2 separate regions of the Homo sapiens genome follow, and region 2 is linked to region 1. Evidence: promoter capture Hi-C in 16 types of primary human blood cells and fetal thymus (Javierre and others, 2016). All regions are on one chromosome and are shown on one strand. Each heading gives the region's core, a stretch centred on a gene start or on the middle of the fragment in contact. The rest is flanking DNA. Distances are from core to core; before and after follow the strand shown.

What was found. Contacts are between HindIII fragments. The CHiCAGO score rates a contact against its expected background, and 5 or more counts as called.
Region 2: a contact is called between a fragment that was not itself captured here and the fragment with the promoter of KIR3DL3 in region 1, in 1 of 17 cell types (monocytes). The highest score is 5.0, in monocytes.

What each region holds. Positions count from the first base shown.
Region 1 is chr19:54,722,743-54,726,108 of GRCh38, forward strand. KIR3DL3 (killer cell immunoglobulin like receptor, three Ig domains and long cytoplasmic tail 3) reads left to right here and starts at 1,700. Exons shown (of 8, transcript NM_153443.5): 1 at 1,700-1,788; 2 at 2,505-2,540; 3 at 3,311-3,366. The coding sequence starts at 1,755. The HindIII fragment of the contact is 6,556 bases long and covers 1-2,693 here.
Region 2 is chr19:54,865,491-54,869,233 of GRCh38, forward strand. KIR3DL2 (killer cell immunoglobulin like receptor, three Ig domains and long cytoplasmic tail 2) reads left to right here. Exons shown (of 9, transcript NM_006737.4): 7 at 315-419; 8 at 880-932; 9 at 1,032-1,717. The coding sequence ends at 1,241. It also overlaps the pseudogene RNU6-222P. Among named protein-coding and RNA genes, the nearest start is that of FCAR, 6.9 kb to the right of the region's middle. The HindIII fragment of the contact is 1,827 bases long and covers 652-2,478 here.

The DNA.
Region 1 (3,366 bases), core at 450-2,949:
AACTTGTCTAGCACCCCTGGAACATTCACCAAAATAAATTTTTAAATGCTGAATCATAGGTAATATGATAGATGAAACAGTTGAATTAAATTATAAATGTACAACAAGGAAATGCTGGGGAAATTATCAAATATTTTAAAATTAATAAACACACATAGCAATAAACAATGAGTGGAAGAAAAACATTTCAAAGAAAGGTGGAAAATATTTTGTATCAATTAAAAATGAAAACACATCTCGGCAAATGACTGGGGATACAGATAGAACAGTGTTAAAGGAAAATAAGCCTCAAATGTCTGTGTTAGAAAAGAAGGAAGAGCTGAGTAAATAGGTAACTTTCGCTTGCAGAAATACTACACATCAGCAAATTAATTCCAAAGTAACGTCGAGGAAAAACATAAAATGGCAAGCAAATATATACGTGCATATGTACGTATATTCATAAATGACAAACAGGACAGAAAAATCAGTGACATCAATTTTGTTCCTTAGAAGAAACAGGAAAATTGACCCCAAAAAACTTTCCAGGCCACATTTGGTCATGATGGAAATATTTTGGCACTTCCTGGTTAAGCTCAACACCAACTTGCACCCAAAACCAATAATTTCATTCCTAGGTAAATATGTCTAATTAATTCAGCATATGTATGCAAGGGATCACACAGAAACACGATTATCAAGGCCCGAGTTATAAAAGAGAAAATCCGGAAACAACACAAATGTCCATGATAAAAAGAGTGGATAATTACATGTTGATAAAGTTATGTATGGACTATTAAACTGCAATCCAAAAGAATAAAATAGAACTATAAAATTCAATATGTATATGGTGTCATAGAAACACAAATGTGAGAAAAAGAAAGAAAAATACAAAATTTATATTTTTTAAAATTTGAAACAACTATATATGTGAGTGCTTAGGGTGTGTGTGTGTGTGTGTGTGTATAACCATATGTATATAAACGCACACATACGCACACATATAGAATGTCCCGGCCAGGCATGGTGGCTCACACCTGTAATCTCAGCACTTTGGGAGGCTGAAGTAGACAGATCACTTGAGGTTAGGAGTTCAAGACCAGCCTGGCCAACATGGAGAAACCTCCTCTCTACTAAAAGTACAAAAATTAGGTGGGCGTGATGGTGGGTGCCTGTAAATCCAGCTACTTAGGAGGCTGAGGCACGAGAATTGCGTGAACCTGGGAGGTGGAGGCTGCAATGAGCCGAGGTCTCACCACTGCATTCCAAACTGGGTGACGAAGTGAGATTGCGTCTCAAAAAAAAAAAAAGTTCTAAAAGTTGTGACTTGGGTGTGGCAGATTGTGACATACTGCCAGCTGCTAGAAATGCTGGGGCAGGAGGATTGCTTGAACTCTGAAGTCAAAGAACAGCCTGGGGAAAATAGCACATGAAGAAGAGTTTGAATCTCAGATAAAAACAACAAAAATACATCAAAAGTCTTTAATGTAAGCCAAGCATTCAGTCATCTCCTGTATGAGAGATTGGATCTGAGACGTGTTTTGAGTTGGTTATAGTGAAGGATGCAAGGTGTCAATTCTAGTTGGAACAATTTCCAGGAAGCCATGTTCCGCTCTTGACCAAACAGCCACTGGGCCTCATGCAAGGTAGAAATAGCCTGCATACGTCATCCTCCCATGATGTGGTCAGCATGTAAACTGCATGAGCCCCTCACAACATCCTGTGTGCTGCTGAACTGAGCTGGGGCGCAGCCGCCTGTCTGCACCGGCAGCACCATGTCGCTCATGGTCGTCAGCATGGCGTGTGTTGGTGAGTCCTGGAAGGGAATCGAGGGAGGGAGCGCTGGGGTGGAGATCTGGGCCTGGAGTGGAGATCTGGGCCTGGAGTGGAGATATGGGCCTGGAGTGGAGATATAGGCCTGGAGTGGAGATATGGGCCTGGGGTGGAGATATGGGCCTGGAGTGGAGATATGGGCCTGGAACTGTAGATATGGGCCTGAAGTAGAGATATGGGCCTGGAGTAGAGATATGGGCCTGGAACTGTAGATATGGGCCTGGAGTGGAGATATTGGCTTGGAGTGCAGATATGGACCTGGAATTGAGATACGGGCCTGGAGGTGGAGATATGGGCCTAGAGTGGAGATATGGGCCTGGAGGTGGAGATATGGGCCTGGAACTGTAGATATGGGCCTGGAGTAGAGATACGGGCCTGGAGTGGAGATGTTGGCTTGGAGTGCAGATATGGGCCTGGAATGGAGACACGGGCCTGGAGGTGGAGATACAGGCCTGGAGGTGGAGATATGGGCCTGGAGTGTAGATATGGGCCTGGAGTAGAGATATAGGACGGAGGTGGAGATATAGGCCTGGAGTGGAGATATGGGCCTGGAGTAGAGATATAGGACGGAGGTGGAGATATAGGCCTGGAGTGGAGATATGGGCCTAGAGGTGGAGATATGGGCCTGGAGTGGAGATATGGGCCTGGAGGTGATGTACAGATGGATCATCCATCATGATCTTTCTTTCCAGGGTTCTTCTTGCTGGAGGGGCCCTGGCCACATGTGGGTGAGTCCTTCCCCCAAACCTTAGGTTGTCATCTCCCCACATAAGATGATGCTCCTGAAACGGGAGGCAGGCGACACAGGGGGTTGACTGATGGGCTGACCATGGGAAGCCATGTGGGAATCTCTCATGAACTAGGAAAAGGAAGCCAGGGGAAGCTTCGCCACAGTTCTGTCCTAGCCCTCCCCGGCCTTTCTTTCCCTTGGCTGAGTCTGTGGGGACCCAGGGGGAGACTGAAGTGCTCAAAGGAGTGGTGTGCAGGGAGGAAGTGGTGTCACCGGCAGAGGAAGGGAGAGAAGCAGTGCAAGGAACAACAGGCCTCTGAGGACAAGAGCATAACTCACACCCTCCAGCGTTTCCATGACGGTAGGGGCTGCAATGTGGCTGCTGTCATTCTACCTAAGAGGTGGGGGAACCACAGTCATGACCCTGACATTCCAGATCTTCTAATAGGGGCTCAGTTGTTTATTATGGTTCATGCATTAGCTGATCATGCCCTCCATCCTGTGTCTACCTTGTGTTCTTTTATGTAAGTAATTTTGCAGTGTTAAAATCTAGTAAGAGTCGCTTCTTCAGCACCTGCTCAAAGTTCTCAGCTGACACTTGCTGTAGGGAGACGCCATGTCTATGCGGGATGGGTCCTTCCTGTAGCCCTGGGCACCCAGGTGTGGTAGGAGCCTTAGAAACGTGGAAATGGGAGAATCTTCTGAGCACAGGGAGGGAGGGGCGGCTCCACATCCTCCTCTCTAAGGTGGTGCCTCCTTCTCCCCCAGGTGGTCAGGACAAGCCCTTCCTCTCTGCCTGGCCCGGCACTGTGGTGTCTGAAGGA
Region 2 (3,743 bases), core at 315-2,814, 140 kb after region 1:
ATGATGGATCCACCTCCATGACTCAAACACCTTCCCATAGGCCCAAACTTCCACACTGGGGGTTAAATTTCAATATTTCAGTGTGAGGTTTCAAAGGGTCAAACATCTAAACTAAAGCAGCTGTATCCTCAGCATGTTCTATGGTTTCTATGAGAGCTGTAACTGAGAAAGCAGGAGAAAGCTGGGTCTCCCGCCATCAGGCTGCTTGTCCTAAGGAGATGTTCCATGTGGTTACCTGTCAATCAAGAAATGAGACAATCCATAAAGAGGAACTGCTATGATTAGCTTCTTATTGGATTCCCATCTTCCTCCAGGTATCTGCAGACACCTGCATGTTCTGATTGGGACCTCAGTGGTCATCTTCCTCTTCATCCTCCTCCTCTTCTTTCTCCTTTATCGCTGGTGCTCCAACAAAAAGAGTAAGTCTCACGAAGCAGAGGCCAGAGAGCTCAGGGCCATGTGGGGAAGCAGGATGGGAGCACGCGGGTGTGTGTTCCTCACTGGCAGGATGGTCCCTGGCCCAAGGGAGGAGCCACAGAGGCAGGGCTTTCTAGAGAGAGCACCAGACAACCTGCCCCTGCCTTCAGCTCACAGACCATTGCCTGGTTCTGAACTGTATCCTCACATCCCCTGCAGCTACTGACATCCAGAAGCTTCCATGACAGGCAGAAAGTGGGAGACAGAATCAATGGGATGCCAATTGAGAGCACTTCATGGGATGGGGTCTTGAACTCAGAGAGATAGAATGTCTGAGTCTGGATGTTGGCAGCTGAAGAGCCTCAGGCACCTACAGCCTCCCCCTGTGGGTTGGTGTCTGCCCATGAAATGAGGACCCAGAAGGGCCCTCCAAGCGGTTTTGATGACTTCCGTCTCCTACAGATGCTGCTGTAATGGACCAAGAGCCTGCGGGGGACAGAACAGTGAATAGGCAGGTAGGTCCTCCTCGGCCCAGCCTCACGGATACAGTCTTATCCCTAATAGTCCTGAAAAATGTGAGCACCCTCCCTCACTCAGCATTTCCCTCTCTCCAGGACTCTGATGAACAAGACCCTCAGGAGGTGACGTACGCACAGTTGGATCACTGCGTTTTCATACAGAGAAAAATCAGTCGCCCTTCTCAGAGGCCCAAGACACCCCTAACAGATACCAGCGTGTACACGGAACTTCCAAATGCTGAGCCCAGATCCAAAGTTGTCTCCTGCCCACGAGCACCACAGTCAGGTCTTGAGGGGGTTTTCTAGGGAGACAACAGCCCTGTCTCAAAACCAGGTTGCCAGATCCAATGAACCAGCAGCTGGAATCTGAAGGCATCAGTCTGCATCTTAGGGGATCGCTCTTCCTCACACCACGAATCTGAACATGCCTCTCTCTTGCTTACAAATGCCTAAGGTCGCCACTGCCTGCTGCAGAGAAAACACACTCCTTTGCTTAGCCCACAAGTATCTATTTCACTTGACCCCTGCCCACCTCTCCAACCTAACTGGCTTACTTCCTAGTCCTACTTGAGGCTGCAATCACACTGAGGAACTCACAATTCCAAACATACAAGAGGCTCCCTCTTAACACGGCACTTACACACTTGCTGTTCCACCTTCCCTCATGCTGTTCCACCTCCCCTCAGACTATCTTTCAGCCTTCTGTCATCAGTAAAATTTATAAATTTTTTTTATAACTTCAGTGTAGCTCTCTCCTCTTCAAATAAACATGTCTGCCCTCATGGTTTCGATAATGTGACTCTTTATTCGCCAAAAGTTTCCAGTGTTATCATTACTATGTCCATATAACCTGATATGTTCTCTACTGGGTTCTCAGCCCTGGACTCTGAGCTTCTGGAAGCAGGGTGGAGCCTCATTTGTCTCTGGGACTCCAATTTCCATCCAAAGATGCAGCACATAGGAGGTTCCAAGGATCGTGAATCACATGAACAAGTGATATTCTTACTCTCTGCAGACCTGGAAAGCTGGCAGAGTCATTCCAAGATGAAACATTTGTAGAGTCATAGGCCTTGTTAGTCTCATCTCCACAGGGACACATGTCAACACATCATCTTTCATACTATAAATATACAGTCGCTCCTCCATATCTGTGGGGTTTACAGGTGTTTATTGAACCAAATATAAATCAAAAATATTCAGAGAAAAAATCCACAAAGTTCCAAAAAGCAAAAATACTATATTGTGTGGACACAAGTGAGGTGGTGTGTAGGCTGTATCAGGAATTATAAGTAATCTAGAGATGATTTCATGTATACAGGAGGATGTGCATGGGTTATATGCAAACGCTGTGCCATTTCATGCAACAGGCTTGAGCATCTGCAGATTTTGGTGTCTGGTAGGGAGGGGGGTTTCCTGGAACCAATCACCCATGAATAGTGAAGGACAACTGTATATAATTTTCATTCATCAATTTTATAAATAAATCATCAAAATGTATGATAATAAGATAAAAAATTAGCAGTGTTTTTATGGTGTGAAAATAAGCTTAGATTTATTTTTTCCTGCTTGTAACCCTCTGGTCCAATGTTATTTACTGAGAAGACATTCTATTCCACCTTAATCCGCATGGCAGCCTCTGTCAACTATAAAAGGACTGTGTGTACACAGATGTATTTTACACACTCTTTTCTGCTCAGTGGCTCTCTGTGTCCACTCTCATGAGGATGCTGCACTTTATGTGGCCTTATAGAACCCCTTAAAATTTGGCAGCCTGAATCCTCTAATTTCTCCTTCCTCTTTAAGATTGCCATTATTATTATTATTGGCTATTTGCTTTTCCATGTAAATTTGTAATCATTTTTCTCATTTCCACCAAAAACAATGCTTGTAATTTTGTTGTGACTCCCTTACATCTACAGGTAAGTTCTGTCCTATAGAAACATAATGCAAACCACATGCATTCTTTCAAACTTGCTAGTATCCAAATTAAAAAGCTAACAAGAAACAGATAAAATTAATTTAAGTTAACCCAATGGACCCAAAATATTATTAACCCAACAGACCCAAAATATTAACCTAATAGATCCAAAATATTATTTTATTATACAAGTAGACTCAAAATATTATCATTTCAACATGTAATCATGTGTCATCTTGGAAAACATCAGATCCCTGTCTAGGTGGGCAAAGATTTTTCTTCGTAATATCTCATTTCCACATTTCCACTTGGCACAGAAACTGCCCCCAAGGCTCAGGATACTAAGATGCAGTAGGAATGGGTAGATGTATCTGGAGGAAAGTGACTGAATGAAATTGAGACATCAGAGTCTGGGAAACTCACTAGAACTACAGGGACAGTGTGGGGGAGGGAATTGGGAGATGTTGATCAAAGGATACAAACTATCAGGTATTCAGGAGGAATGGGTCTGAAGATCTCTTGTACAGCTTTGCCACTATGGTTGACAATACTGTACTCTATACTTGAAATTTACCAGGAAAGTAGATTTTTTTTTTTAAATATGGAACACTTCACGAATTTGCGTGTCATTCTTGCGCAGGGGCCATGCTAGTTTTCTCTGTATCGTTCCAATTTTAGTATATGTGCTGCCGAGGCAAGCATGGGAGAGTAGATTTTTTTTTTTTTTTTTTTTTTTTTTGAGCTGGAGTCTTGCTCTGTCACCCAGGCTGGAGTGCAGTGGCGCGATCTCGGCTCACCGCAAGCTCCGCCTCCTGGGTTCACGCCATTCTCCTGCCTCAGCCTCCCGAGTAGCTGGGACTACAGGCGCCCGCCACCACGCCCTGCTAATT